Linked DNA regions of Homo sapiens: region 1 is linked to region 2. The links are contacts of gene promoters, found by promoter capture Hi-C in blood cells and fetal thymus (Javierre and others, 2016). All regions are on one chromosome and are shown on one strand. The core of a region is centred on a gene start or on the middle of the fragment in contact, and the rest is flanking DNA. Distances in the headings are between cores, read along the strand shown.

The links. The method cuts DNA at HindIII sites, captures the fragments that hold promoters and counts their contacts. A CHiCAGO score of 5 or more calls a contact.
Region 1: a contact is called between a fragment that was not itself captured here and the fragment with the promoter of RMI2 in region 2, in 1 of 17 cell types (activated CD4 T cells). The highest score is 6.0, in activated CD4 T cells.

The regions. Positions count from the first base shown.
Region 1 is chr16:11,147,823-11,155,704 of GRCh38, reverse strand. The region is part of intron 22 of CLEC16A (C-type lectin domain containing 16A); the gene reads right to left. Among named protein-coding and RNA genes, the nearest start is that of SOCS1, 100 kb to the left of the region's middle. The HindIII fragment of the contact is 5,148 bases long and covers 138-5,285 here.
Region 2 is chr16:11,341,299-11,348,852 of GRCh38, reverse strand. RMI2 (RecQ mediated genome instability 2) reads right to left here and starts at 3,394. Exons shown (of 2, transcript NM_152308.3): 1 at 3,087-3,394. The coding sequence starts at 3,381. The region is part of intron 1 of LOC105371082 (a long non-coding RNA gene); the gene reads right to left. It overlaps LOC105371083 (a long non-coding RNA gene), which reads left to right and starts at 3,641. Exons shown (of 2, transcript NR_135174.1): 1 at 3,641-3,740; 2 at 6,430-7,044. RefSeq lists silencers at 3,066-3,145, 3,166-3,325. The HindIII fragment of the contact is 15,776 bases long and covers 1-7,554 here.

The DNA.
Region 1 (7,882 bases), core at 1,462-3,961, 190 kb after region 2:
TGGCTGATGACGTTCTATGACACATCATCTACAACAAGAACTGAAGATACTATCTGGAACTATGTGAGTCAGATAGAATCAGGGAGTATGTGCGGAGCCACAGAAAGGCCGTGATGGATAACAGCACAGAACAAGCTTCAAAAACCCACAGCTGAGGTTGTTAAGTGGACAGGGCTCTGTTGACGTCTGCCCTGGCAGACCTGTGGGACATGGCTAACCGGACGGCTGGACACGAGCCTTCTGCTATCTGCAGGGGAGAAACCTGAAGAGCAGCAACTTGGCTTTAGGCTTGTCACTTTTACTCTGGCTACAGGATACGGTGGTGAGGAGAGTGCCGTGGCTCTGGGCATGTGACAGCAGGGGACCTGTTCACCCCACGAGCCTGTGTCCTCTAAAGCACTGTTGTCACTCTAAAGCAGAGTGACACCACCACACCTTACAGGGTTCGTGAGGATGAAAGCATTAACGCAATCTAAATGTTCAGGTAGCACTCGCTGTTTTGATTCCTCGGCTGGAATTTACGGTGCCTGGAACTTGGGCCCAATGAGGCAATAACTGGGATTTTCTTCTCTTTTTTTGGAGACAGGGTCTCACTCTGTCACCAAGCCTGGAGTGCAGTGGCATGATCCCGGCTCACTGCAGCCTCTTGACCTCGCCAGGCTCAGCTGATCCTCCCACCTCAGCCTCCCGTGTAGCTGGGACTACAGGTGCACACCACCACACCTGGGTAATTTTTCTGTTTTTTGTAGTGGTGGGTTTTATTTATTTATTTATTTTTGAGATGGAGTCCCGCTCTGTTGCCCAGACTGGAGTGCAATGGCACGATCTCAGCTCACTACAACCTCCGACTCCCAGGTTCAAGTGATTCTCTTACCTCAGCCTCCCAAGTAGCTGGGATTATAGGCAACTGCCACCACACCTGTCTAATTTTTTTGTATTTTTAGTAGAAATGGGGTTTCACCATGTTGGTCAGGCTGGTCTCGAACTCCTGACCTCAGGTGATCCGCCCACCTCAGCCTCCCAAAGTGCTGGGATTACAGATGTGAGCCCCCACGCCTGTCCTGGGACTTTCATTTTCGTAAGTGTCTTTAGACAAAGGGGTATGTAGCAAAAGAAATGGCCCAGCTCTTTGGAGAAAAGAACGCAACACAAAACAAAAGTCTTCCTCACATTAGCTGTTATGACTGAAGATTTTAGGAGTTAACAAAGTGAGACATGAGAGAGCCTTTCTAAAGGAACTTTAAATATCTAGGTTTAAAGGATTTATATGAAAATCGTTTACGAGAAAAATGAAGTTATTTTCATCTAGATTCTTAAAAACCTCATGTTACACTGCATTCAAGACACATGACTATTCTATTTGCATTTCTTTGATAGAGAGTTGAATGGATGAGCTTGAACCATATGCAACTGCCAATATTCAACTAACTTGACCTACAGAAACAGCCATTTCATATGGTTCAATCTACTCTAAGTCCATCCCTCTTAAAGATCCCTACCAGAATAATTCATGGAGGATGGGGACGGAGGGAACAGCCAGCAGTGTATTCAAACAAATAAATGGCTTTCCCCAATTCTCCATTTCTCTTTGCCCTGTCTGCGCATGTGTGTGCAGGAGTGTGCGTGTGTACACACCTGTGTGTGTTCCTCTCTCCAGCTACATTCATCCTTTCATTTCCAAAATCGGTAGCTTCAACAAAATGCTTAGAAATAAGGTTGGCACTTATGGGGAGGTGTGTGTCTTCTTGACAGATGACCCACAAAAAGGGGACTTATTAGGAACCAGAAGGGCTTCTCAAATGGGCTAGGTTGCTCTCTTTTCCCTTTGTTCCTCCTCACAAATGCTGAGCTAATGTGTCCAACATTAAAAATCACCCTAGCTATTATGCATTTGTAGTTTTGACTTATTTTTTTAGTATTATTAATATTTCATCATAAAAGTATTGATTTCCTTTAACTAAGAGACTTTAAAGTTTACTGTATTCTTAAGCATGATTTTATTATGTCTTGGGGTCAGATGTTTTTCCCTCCCCCAGAAGGAATGCTTTTCCTTTTCTATAATGTGCGTCAAGAAGAAAGGAGGAATTGATTCACAGAATTCTGCATTACAGGCAACTTTTAAGGAACGTATCTAGTATGTATACTTAGAGTGACGTTTCTTAAACACAACTGTACGTTTCATTGTTTAGCCTTTTTAATCTGTTAGAGGTAAGAACCAAAGCACAACATTTATGTTAAAATATGAGACAGTTTCAAAGAAGCAAATCTGGGAAAATTAAGACAACTCTGGACATGACCCTAAAGCTGTCAACTCCTCACAAGTGCTCCAGGGGTCATAAAAACCTTAGTTTCTATGTTGTCATCCTCTTCCTTCAAGAAAGGCAACAGAAAACGAGAAGGAGTCCTGCTGGCACGGGGACTACCTAGAAAAGGCACCATTTCCCTTTCTATGTAAATCGCTGGTGTCAGATGCCAATTGCACAGTTGGGGAAGGAAGGCTCCGTTTTACAGAACCCATCCAGGAAGCAGGCGGAGGGCAGTAACTGGCAAACAAACACAGCGCTCTGAAATGTTTAAATATTGAACATCCTTTCTCCTTCCTCTACATTTATTATTAACTTGGGCCCACATCACTATGTGCATTGACTTCATTTCTTCCCAAGAACCCAAGACACAATGGACAATGCTCAGAGGCTGCGGGGTCGGGGTGGAGTGGAGATTTGGGTTTCTTTCTTCATACCCTCGCTGGAGATCCTTTCCAGTCAGCCCCACGGTTTTAGAGCCATGAATTCCTGGAAGCGTCTCAGCCTTTCAATGACCCCTGGCGCCCGAACGCAGATGATTAGTGCCCCAAATATTGACAGACTGGACTTTCTTCCCCTTTGACACAGGGGAGCAGTGTCAGAGGGAGGCTGGAGGAAAGATGCCGTCACCACCTGACTGGCGAGATTGTGGGAACGTCATTAGGACAGGTGCTCTATTATTTGGGACCACAGTGGTGCCCTTAGCTTTGACCAGGTAGAAACAATGCTCAGGATGCTGTGTGAATGCTACAGGGGACCTGGTTAAAAACAAACAAAACAACCCTATCTACAGACACCAGTAACTGATGTCTTTTGCTCAGCTTCTAGACAACAGAGGGGATTGGCACTGGCCCTGCTCTGACAGGTGCAACCCACCAGATGTCAATGTCCTGGACCAGCAGCTGAGCAAACACAGAGCTTGGGCCCCCCGTCATTCCTCATGAAGATGAACATTTGGGATCAGAAATAGAAACCCCAAATCTCTCCAGAAAACAAGGCAGCACCTTTTCCTGGGAACAGATAAGGGTAGCAGGAGGACCATCTGTCAGACCCATGCAGACACCAGCCGCCCGCCTGCAGAGGGAAGATCTTGTGGGTGTGCTAGCAGCATGAGCTGGTTATGAGCACTCGTTTTTCCTGGGCTTTTAGCTGTTCAAGTGAAATTGTCCCAGATGACCGGCCTAAGGCTTCCACTTTCTTTTAAAAGACAGCACTACATTTGAGATCGATGTTTTCCCCTGAAATGCAGGCTAAATTTATCCTTCCGCGCATCTTGCTCTCTGGTCTCTGTGCTAAGCTGGCCCTTGCTGTGCTGAGTTAGGCATCTGCTGTTCAATGCTGGTTCCTAGCCGGCAGTACTCAAGCACCTAGTTCTATCCTTTTGCTCATCACACACACAAAACCCCCTGGTTCTCTGAGAGATTCCTTTGCTGCCTCATTCTCTGTAGTTCCGTTAATTAAGCTCTCACTTCCCGGGTTCCTCACCCGTCTCCAGCTCTCAGAACTACCCTAAAAAGCTATCAAAAGTTGGCTCCATTTGAAAGGCTCCAGAGAGCCCCTTCCCCAGCCGGCCCCCGCCCCCCGAAAGTGGCTGAGTACTCATTACTTGATTGCCTTTTGCAACAGTGAGCTGGTGCAGGCTGCCATGAGCTTAACGGACTGAACTAAATCAGAGAAGTCGCTACTCTCTCCTGGGCTCCCTTGGCAAGCTGCCCTGTGAGTGAAATTGCACTGATTGATTTAATGCCTGAGGCCCAGAGGGCCCAGTATTTCTGAAATCTCTATTCATCTATACAGATGCAAGAGTACATGCCCCAAACAGACATTTTGAGCTACGGTTTCTACTTTGCTATTAACCCATAGACTCTCTCTCTTTTTGGCAGGAATGAGAAATAAAAAAGTGACTTGATAGAAACAATGCCTGTGCACATGCTGGCAGAGGCGCACACATATGTGCAGAGGACTTCAGCCTGGAGCACTGGGCAGGAGTCATCTGAGAGCCCAGGTGAATGAAGACAAGGGCCCAGGTGTGACCAGGTGGGCATCCCCCTACTCTGCTTTCTGGAAGGCAATTTGGCAAGGTGCCACCCAGAGCCTGACAAATGGACAGTCCCCCTGACTCTAAGGAATGGTTTCTGGAGGAATAATTGGAAATGTAGACCAAGATTTCTGAATAAGGATGTTTGTCATAGGGTGCTTCATAAGGTAGTAGAAACAACGTAAGTGGCCAGTATAAGCGGATTAAGTAAAATCTGGCAAATTCAGACTGTTTTGTGTTTCACTGTGTCCCCTTCAAATTCTTAGGTTGAAGTCCTAACCTCTAGTACCTCAGACTCAGAATGTGACCTCGTTTGGAAATGGGGTCATTTTACAGATGCAATTAGTTAAAATGAGGTCATTAGGTTTGGTCCTAATCCAATATGTCTGTGCCTCCTAAAAAATGAAAATTTGGACGCAGATTTTCACACAGGTAGAACATCACGTGAAGATGAAGGCAAGACTGGGGTGATACTTCTATGAGCCAAAAAGTAGCAAAGATTGCCAGCAAAACACCAGAAGCCAAGGAGGGAGGCCTGGACCAGAGTCCTCCTCACACCCCTCAGAGGAAACCAGCCCTGCCAATACCTTGATTTTGCACTTCTACCCTCCAGACCTGTGAGACAATCAATTTCTGCTGTTTATGCCACCCAGTTTGTGGGACTTTGTTATGGCCACCTCAGGAAACTAACACTCAGACAATGGACTATTATGCAGTCATCAAGAATGAAGTTTAGAAGAGGCATTTTACAGTACAGGGAAGTGCTTCTGACATGATGGCAATGTTGTGAAAACAAAACCTTGTGACTTGGCAGTTCTGCTTCTTGTACTGCACGTGCACACAGAGAGAGGTGTGCCCAAGGATGCCCACTGCAACGCTGCCCGGGATAGAAAAAGACTAGGATGACTGAATCACTCAGCCAAAGAAACGCAAGTAGCCAAGCTTTGGAATACTATGCAGCCGTGAAAAGGAATGTGTGAAATCTGTAAGTGCTAACACAGATTCCTGATTTACAGTGGTGTCTGAAAAGAGCAAGGTGCAGCAGGGTATACAGAATTATGATTTTATTTAAGGGAAGCCCAAACCTTAACACAATTACAGATCCATACTTAACTCCTTATCCTAAACCTCTGTGGCCAGATATGTCTTGGAATTTAGAATCTTTAGGAGGTAAAAGGCCATGTAGGGCACACATAGGTATTACGTTACACTGTCAGCTGGGTCGTGAGCAGCTAAAACCAAACACTGAATTTTTGCAGAAACGAAAACATAAACTCACAATTACTGGCATCAATGACTCTAATAAACCCGCCCATAAATACCTGAAGGCAGGTTTTGGTTTTGCCATCATACGAGTTAGGAAAAATATTTTGATTTTCAGAGCTGTTTGGGTTTCAGAATTGCAGAGAAGGGGTGGTGGCTCTGTTCTGTTCATCAGCTCTGGCACATGTATGAAATGCAACTGCACAGAGAAGGGTCTGGAAAAATAAAAATAAGGCAAATGATGACTGAGGAAGGGTGGTAACTGATGGGGTCTTAAGTCGCACCTGCAATGTTGCAATTTTTTTTTTTTTTTTAAGACAGTCTCACTTTGTCACCCAGGCTGGAGTGAACTGGTGTGATCTTGGCTCACTGCAACCTCTGCCTCCCAGGTTCAAGCCATTCTCATGTCTCAGCTTCCCAAGTAGCTGGGATTACCGGTGGGCACCATCATGCCCAGCTATTTATATTTTTAGTGGAGATGGGGTTTTGCCATGTTGCTCAGGCTGGTCTTGAACTCTTGAGCTCAGGCAATCTGCCTGCCTCAGCCTCCCAAAGTGTTGAGATTACAGGCATGAGCCACTGTGCCCAGCCTGATTTTTTCAAAAATCAACAATCAACTCATGTATTTTTTTTTTTAAATGAGAGAAAGAGACAAAACAGGGAAGACAGAAGTGGAAAATAAACAGAAATATTAACAATGCTTTCTTCTGGGTTGATAGGATTGTGATTTCTTCTTCCTGTAGCTTCTCAGTTTTCATTTATAATATTCTACGTTCATGTATTAATGCACAAAAATTAATACAACGGGTCTGCAGTAATAGCAAAACAGCTGACCGGTTCCATCCATTCCTGTTATCAGCTCATCCCCAGGGCCTCAGTGACCCCATGGGGTCAAGTCCCGCTGCCTGCCTGACTCACCACCACTGGTGACTTGTGCTCCGACAGCCCCACACCTCCCTGGCTGTGAAGCCTGGCCCCTCCCCTGGCCTCTGCTAACATACTGGCCACTTTGATTCACCATCTCTCTTTCTCCCTGTCCTTTATTTTTCTGCCCTCTTTGGCCTTTGATTGCTTTTTGGGAGTTTATCATATTGAACTTGTATCCCTTTCCGGGAAACTCTATTAGTTTTTTCTTCCCTTTCACAATTAATAAATAATCATGAGAGCCCTTCTATGGATAGAAGTACATCCTGCCTCCTACACAGAACTGCTGGAGCTTCTCTTTTGTGGCTCTTCTGGGCCTGAGCTGAAGCGCACATCACCTGTCACAGGAGGGAGAGCATTCTGGTGCATCGCTGTGCTCGGAGAAAGGGTGCCAGCCGTTGGCTCATTATTTGAACTGCTCCTGGTCCTACAAGATGGCTGTGCTTTCCTGGCCATACAGGGGATGGAGCACTGGCCTGGGAGTCTAAAGGCTGGAGTATGGACAGGGAAACGGAGGCGCATAATATAAGCTAAGATGGTGGGCTTTGGTGGCAGACAGACATGGGTTCAAGCCACAGCCCTGATGCTGACTGGCTGTGTAATGGAAATTGTAGCCTTGAGCCTCCATTTCCCTGGCATAATATGGGGGAAATAATCCCTATGTCATACATCATTGTGAGGATTAAGTGAGAAGAGTACACACAACCTTGCTTGGCACAGTGTCTGATATGCAGTAATTGCTCAATAAACAGTACCTGTATTGTCAAGTTCTAGTGCCTCCAGACCTCCTCCACCAGGAGGTGGAGGTTTCTACCATACAAAAAGGCCACAACTAGCCCTAACTACATCCAAGACATAACATGTGGCATTTGAGATGACATTTTTAAAAGTCATTGGCATGAGTTGGACGTGGTTGCCGGCATACCATCTAGCAGCACCAGGAAATAAGTTCCGGAACAACAAACAGGTACTGGTCACCTGTTTTCCATCTCAAATCCACAACACGAACTACTCACCGCACTTCTAATGTTCACAGCAGTGATTCTAATTCTTTCTTTCCCAGAAATCATGAATCTGAGGTCAGACCACAATCAACAGAGATTTCTGGAAAGGTATGAAATGCAAACTTATCTCATAATTTACAGGAAAGAAAAGGAAACAGGAGGCTATTTTACCAGTAAGAACAGAGTTTTTTTCTCAAAGTCAAAAAGAAATGGAAAAAAGGCACGTTTTAGGGAAGAGAAAGGGTGCCAGGTGAGTCTGGATTGCATCAAGGTTTCCAAATTATTCCGGAATGTGTTGCAGGTTCCAACTTCTTTTTTTACATTTGGACTGCTTTAAGGAAAATGTTACA
Region 2 (7,554 bases), core at 2,145-4,644:
TCCATGGAGCTGCACAATCTCCTGCCACTGCACACAGACAGAGGGTGCCCAAGTGTCCCAGTTTTAACACTGAAAGTCCCACGTCCCAGGACCCTCTCAGTCCCAGGCAACCCAGGAGGGTTGGTCCTTACAGATAACTCCAATGCATCCTTCAGGGCTGCCTCTTCCAGGAAGCCTTCCCTGAGCCCTCAAACCTAGATCAGCTGTCCCTCCTCTGCGCCACCTCACTCTTGCCTGCAATGTTACTTTGTGTTTTAGTGGCCCGCTTACCTCCCTGCCTCCCTGATGGCAGTGACTCAATTTTGTCAAGCTGGACTCAGTATTAATTAACAAGAAGAAATGACATGGCCCCTGCCAGCTGGCATTCAGGCCAGTGGGTATGTCAGACAGGTTCACCAATGCCCATGGGTTCAAACACTTATTTACTAGATGCCAGGCTTATGCCAGGGCTGAGACCAGATAGGAGACTGCCCCAGCCTGCCTGCAAGGTGCTTTGCCTGCAAACCAACACACCAAGCAGCATGGGTTACTTGCTGGGCCAAGGCTAAGGCCAAGGGTTGGCAAACTTTTTCTGTAAAGGGCGAGACAAATATTTTGGGCTTTTCCCGCCATAGGGTCTCTGTCCCAGATAAAATTCTAGCTGGGGTGGGACAGCGGCCCGAGACATTCTGTAAATTACCAATGTATTCCAATAAAACTTAACTTATGAACACTGATGCTTGAATTTCATATACTTTTCACATATCACGATTTTCTTTTCAACCATTTAAAAATGTGAAATCCTGCCAGGTGCAATGACTCACACCTGCAGTCCCAGCACTTTGGGAGGCCAAGGTGGCCAGGAGCTCCAGACCAACCAGTCTAGCCAACATGTTGAAACCCCATCTCTACTAGAACTACAAAAATTAGCCGGGTGTGGTGGTGCACACCTGTAATCCCAGCTACTCGGGAGGCTGAGGCATGAGAATCGCTTGAACCCAGGAGGTGGAGGTTGCAGCAAGCCATGACTGCGTCACTGTACTCCAGCCTGAGAGACAGAGCGAGATTCTGTCTCAAAAATAATAATAGTAATACATAAAAATTTTAAAAGCATTTTTAGTTCGCAGGACACATGAAAAGAGGAGGCCTGTAGTTTGCTGACCCTGTCCTAGACCAACGCTGCGGCTGAGGGCAGGCAGACAGAGGGAAGGCTGATGGGTAAGGCAGTGGGAAGACGGAACAGGAGCATGTGGCAGTAAACGAGTCCTGATATTTTGCATCCTCACTGTGAGCCAGGTGCAGTACTAAGGCAGTTGTTTACTTATTGAATCCACACAACACGCAGGAATGATTAGCTCCTTTTTACAAAATAGTACAAGTCCAGAAAAGTTAACAAGAGTGCTCCAGGCAGCTCAGTTGGGAAGGGGTGGAACCAGAAATTCGACCTAAGCCTTTCCGAGTCCACAGCAGCTCAGGCCAGACCACAGCCCTATCTGCCTCTAGTTAGACTCCAAGACTGAGCAGGAAGGGCCCTTAGGAATGAAGTGATCTTGGCCTGATTTCCCAGGAGAGGGAGCTGAGGTGAGGGAAGGCCCATGGAGCCTCAGAGCTCCTCAGCTTAGACCTCACATCCTCTAGAAGCCTCCCCGGGCCACTCAGCACCTTGCACATCCTCATGGCTCCCCAAAGATCAGCGATCCTCTGCGACACTTGCTCACTGCCTGTCTCCCAGCAGACTCTATCTAGGTCTCGGCTGCAGCCCAACACTGCACATGAGGGGCTGATGTACAACACGTGCTCAACTGACATCCCAGGGAACAAGTGAGATGGATGCCCATTGCCTATCACTCAAGACTATTGGTTCTTGGAGCACTTATGTGTCAGGAACTGGGCCAGATGCTGAGGATACAGTTGTCAGGACCACACAGCTCTGGCCCTCCAGTAGCTTGGGCTGGCCCAGTGGTTCTCAAAGTATGGCCCCCAAACCAGGCGTGGTGGTACAGGCCTGTAGTCCCAGCTACCCAAGGAGGCTGACGCAGGAGGATTGCTTGAGCTCAGGGCCAGCCTGGGCAACACGGTGAGTCCCCTATCTCAAATAAATAAAACATTTAAAAAGTCGAAAGTATGGTCCCCAGACCAGCAGCATCAGCATCACCTGGGAGCTGGTTAGAAATGCAAATTTCCAGCCCCACCTGGACCTCCTGACTCACAAACCCTGAGGGTGGAGCCCCAGCCATCCCAGCTTTACCAAGCCCTCCAGGAGAGACTGATGCTGGCTCAAGTTTGAGCATCAGTGGTTTAAGAGAGGAAGCAGGCAGGGCGCAGCGGCTCATGTCTGTAATCCCAGCACTTTGGGAGGCCGAGATGAGCAGATCACTTGAGGCCAGGAGTTCGAGACCAGCCTGGCCAACATGGCAAAACCCAGTCTCTGCTAAAAAATACAAAAATTAGCCGGGTGTGGTGGCACATGCCTGTAATCCCAGCTACTCGGGAGGCTGAAGCATGAGAATCGCTTGAATTCGGGAGGTGGAGGCTGCAGTAAGCTGAGGTCGCGCCACTGCACCCCATCCTGGGCGACAGAGTGAGACTCCGTCTCAAAAAAAAAAAAAAAAAAAAAAGAGAGGAGGCAAACATGAGTGAGCTACAGCCCAAGACAGTTCAATTAAGGAGAAGTACAGGAGGGTCTCCCGTTCCTAGGGGCTAGGGAGGACTTCCCTGAGAAAGGCACATTTGAGCTGAGACGTTAAGGATGAGCAGAAGTTTCCCAGGACAGTATTTCCCAAAACAAGGATATCAACTGGGAGAGGGGGCTTGTGACAAACGAAGGTGCCGGAGTCCCTCCCCAGAAGATTCCCACTAGGGGTGGGAGAGTCCCAGGAATCTGTATTTGTAAAAGGGACGGCAGGTGATGCTTATCATCAGATCAACTTCACCAAGGAGGGACCGGAGCAAGGGTACCCAAGCGGGGACCCGCAGGGGCAGAGGCCCGGAGGAGGGCCAGACCCGCCCCGCCCCCGTTCGAGTGTCAACAACAAGATCGAATCTGGCCTCGGCAACTTCTCGGCGGGCAGCAGGGAAGAGGGCGCCCGGTAAGGCCCGGGCATTACCTGGGACTAGACAGGGCCGCCCGCGCGGCACCCGCTCCAGGCCGCGGACCGAGAAGTCCCCGCTCGGGTCCCTCAGCCGAGCCTCGCCGCGGTCCGCCATCACTACCCTGCCCTGCATCCACACGGCCGCCAGGTCCAGCGGCCCGCGGCCCGCCGCCGCCCGTGACAGCCGCCACGCGCCCGGGCCGCCCTCCGCGTCGCGCCGCAGCTGCTCCGCCAGCACCTTGAGTGGCGGCGACCTCGGAAGCCGCACCCCCGCGGGGCCGCCTGAGAACGAGTCCGCAGCCGCCGCCATTCCGCCTCGCCGCACCCTTCCGCCCCGCCTCCGCTTTCCCGCCAACTTTGAGAAGCAGCGGGGCCCGGCCCTCAGCCACCAATCAGGAGCGCGCTGGCAGAGCCGGCCAATGGTCGACGTCAGAAGGCGGGACCGCCGGGCGAAGAGGCCCTCTCTAGCAGCCAGGAGTGCGCATGCGTAGATAAAAGTAAATAAACGCCCTCAAGTTAGGAATGAACGGAGGAAATGGGTTAAACGAGAATAAATAATTGAAGGCAGAGAGGTAAAGAACTTCCTCTTTCAACGCATCTCAAAATTTGGCGTGGATGCAGATCACCTACAGAGTATGATTATTCATCTTTACATTGCCTTGTTTTGAGGTTAGTAAATACTGAAACGAATTAAGAGTCCGTGTTTATTGGGAGTGAGCAAGAATCCAGTCAGGAGATAAGGCTGGGGAGGGAGACGGGGAGAGCTGGCAAACTTGCCTTTTCTTTTATTATTATTTTCAGTTATATTTTAATAGCATCAAATAATTTTAAGGTTAATAAAATATATTGCTATTTTTCAGACAAGAAATGCACATTTATTGTAAAAAAAATAGGGGAAAAATGTAGAACAAGAAAATAATTGTAAAAGCCGCTTATAGATACCCACTGTTAATTTTGGGGTATATTAGCCTTTAGGCTTTAAAATATGTGTGTGTATTTTTTTTGAGACAGGGTCTCACTCTGTTGCCCAGGATGGAGTGCAGTGGCACAGTGACGGCTCACTACAACGTTCACCTCCCGGGCATAGGTGATTCTCCTACCTCAGCCTCCCAAGTATCTCGGACTACAGGCGTGCACCACCACGTCCAGCTAATTTTTGTATTTTTTGTAGAGACAGGGTCTTACCATGTTGCCCAAGGTGGTCTGGAACTCCTGGGATCACGCAATCCTGCCTCCTTGGCCTCCCAAAGTGCTGGGATTACAGGCGTGAGCCACCATGCCTGGCCTATTACTGATATACAAATAGTGTTTTGTATATTGTTTTCACTTAATAATGAACATCTTTCTGTATCAGCAAATATCCATCTGCTTCCTCTTGAATGACTGCATAATACTCGATTTGTCTTATCACATATTAAACCAATATCCTACAGTTGGACATTAAGGCTATTTCCAATTTTTCACTTTATAAATATATCCACTGTGGACCTACTTAAAAGATAAATCTTTTTTATTTATTTATTTATTTATTTTTTTGAGACGGAGTCTCACTCTGTCACCCAGGCTGGAGTGCAGTGGCGCCATCTGGGCTCACTACAAGCTCCGCCTCCCAGGTTCCCGCCATTCTCCTGCCTCAGCCTCCCGAGTAGCTGAGACTACAGGTGCCTGCCACCACGCCCAGCTAATTTTTTGTACTTTGTTTTAGTAGAGACGAGGTTTCACCGTGTTAGCCAGGATGGTCTCGATCTCCTGACCTCGTGATCCACCCGTAAAAGCTAAATCTTTTTGTGCATCCTTCAAATAAAATTCCCAGGAATCTCTCCCTAAAAATTGGATGTCCCCAGTCAGCAAAGTCCACAGATCCTAAATCAGGCAATCCTTAAAGTCAAGGTCAGTTCTTAAGAGAAACTTTGAGTTCCCAGGGCCTCCTGCAGTACCAGGCATTCAGAGAGTATTCAGCAAGAGCTTGATTTTTTTTTTTTTTTTTTTTTGAGACGGAGTCTCGCTGTGTCACCCAGGCAGGAGTGCAGTTGTGCCATCTCAGCTCACTGCAACCTCCGCCTCCCAGGTTCAAGTGATTCTCCTGCCTCAGCCTCCTGAGTAGCTGGGACTACAGGTACACGCCACCCGCCTGGCTAATTTTTGTATTTTTTAGTAGAGACGGGGTTTCGTCATACTGGCCAGGCTAGTCTCAAACTCCTGACCTCGTGATCTGCCCGCTCAGCCTCCCAAAGTGCTGGGATTACAGGCGTCAGCCACCGCACCCGGCCAAGAGCTTCATTTTTATAAAATTGAGCCAGGTCCTATTGTAAGAACTTTGTAGGAAGTATCCCATGTACCCCCACAGACCCTGAAAAGACTGTTCCACACAGGTGAGGAAACTGAGGCTTAAGGAAGCTAGAGGGCTGGCCCATAGACTCTCAGTAGCCTCTATGAGGTTTTGGCCTCTACACCTAATATGGTTTGGCTGTGTCCCCACCCAAATCTCATGTTGAATTGTACTTCCCATAATCCCCACATATCGTGGGAAGGACCCCGTGGTAGGTAATTGAATCATGGGGGCGGATACTCCCATGCTGTTCTCGTGATAGTGAGTGAGTTCTCACAAGATCTGATGGTTTTATAAGGTGCTTTTCCCCCTTTGCTCGGCACTACTTCTTCCTGCTGCCACATAAAGAAGGACGTTTGCTTCCCTTTCTGCCATGATTGTAAGTTTCCTGAGGCCTCCCAGCCCTGCGGAACTGGAGTTAATTAAACCTCTTTCCTTTATAAATTACCCAGTCTTGGACAGTTCTTTATAGCAGTGTGAGAACAGACTAATACAACACCTCAACCCTGACCTATGAAGTAACCAGGCTCCTAGGCTGAGAAAGGAGCAGGAACATTAACCAAGAGAGAATCCAACCCGTTCATGCCTGGTGGGTCCTCACTGACCTTCCCCCGAGGTACCTTAAGGACAGAGAAGTGACGGAGAAGGGAGTTAGCGTGAAGGGAGAAGCCCCCAGGCTTCTTGTATGAGCCTGGGAATCCCCCATCATTCCCTTGGCCTCCAGATTCCCTGCACCTGCTCCCACAAGCCCAACACCATGTTGCTGGCAGAGTGATCTTTTCAAAACACAAGTCTTAGCATGTCAGCACCGGGTTTATAACACCTTGATGGTGTAATCCACACATCTGGCATGTGAGCATTCCAGGCAGAGGGAACTGCACATGGAGGGGCCAGACAGGGGAGACAAAGCAAGAAGCATGTAGCAAACTGCCAGTAGTTAAGGATGGCTGGGACACAGAGTAGAAATGGAGGACTGGGGATAGATGAGTCTGGCTCTACATAACCTCATGTCTTATCCCCATTTTACAGATGATGAAACTGAGGTTCAAGCCAATGACAAGCCTGAAGCCACATGGCTAGTGAGTGGCAGAGTCAGAACTCAAACCCAAATCCACCTGACCCCAAACTTCATGTATCTTGAACTACAGGCTCCATCTCACTGTTCACACTCTCACCCACCTCCACCCATCAAAGGTGCCTCTAGACCTTTGCTTGTGTTGTTTGTTCTCTGCCTGACATGCCTCCCCCTCAGTCGCTCTCAGTTGAAACCTGGCTTAGTCATCAAGTGCCTGCTCAGCAGCAAGACCTCTTCTCTTCACAGAGCCTTTGTTGAGCCCCACCACTGGAATTAACCTCTTCCTTCCAGACCAGTTTGGTGGTGCCCCTAATCCACAGTTTCCCAACCTCAGCCCTACTGACACTGGGGCTGGATAATCTTTGTCGTGGGGGCTGTCGTGTGCACTGCAGGATATGGAGCAGTACCCCTGCTTTCCACCCACGAGATGCCATGGCACCCTCCTCAAGTTGCAACAACCAAAATATGTCTTCAGACATTGCCACTGTCCCCTAGGGTACTAAATCACCTCTATGGAGAACCACTGTCCTAAGCTACAATACTCACTGCCCTCTGTTTTGAGCCATAAATAGTTGTGTCTGTGTCTATCTTACCAGTAAAGCCTGGGTTCTCAAACTAAGTTGTCAGCAGCAGACAGACAGGTAACCCTGGTGTAGCAGGGGCAAACTGGCCTTCTGATGTCCCGGCAACAGGGGTCCATCACACTCAGCCGGTGGTTGTCGTGCAGGACTGTGGGCCCATTGTTGCTAGATCTGATTTTTCAAGACATTTTCTTTTTTTCGTTTGTTTTTGTTTTGTTTTAGATGGAGTCTAACTCTGTTGCCCAGGCTGTAGTGCAATGGCACGATCTCAACTCACCACAACTTCCACCTCCCAGGTTTAAGTGATTCTCCTGCCTCAGCCTTACAAGTAGCTGGGATTACAGGTGCCCGCCACCACGCCCGGCCAATTTTGTGTATTTTTAGTAGAGATGGGGTTTCACCATGTTGGCCAGGCTAGTCTCGAACTCCCTACCTCAGATGATCCACCTGCCTTGGCCTCCCAAAGTGCTGGGATTACGGGCGTGAGCCACCGCGCCC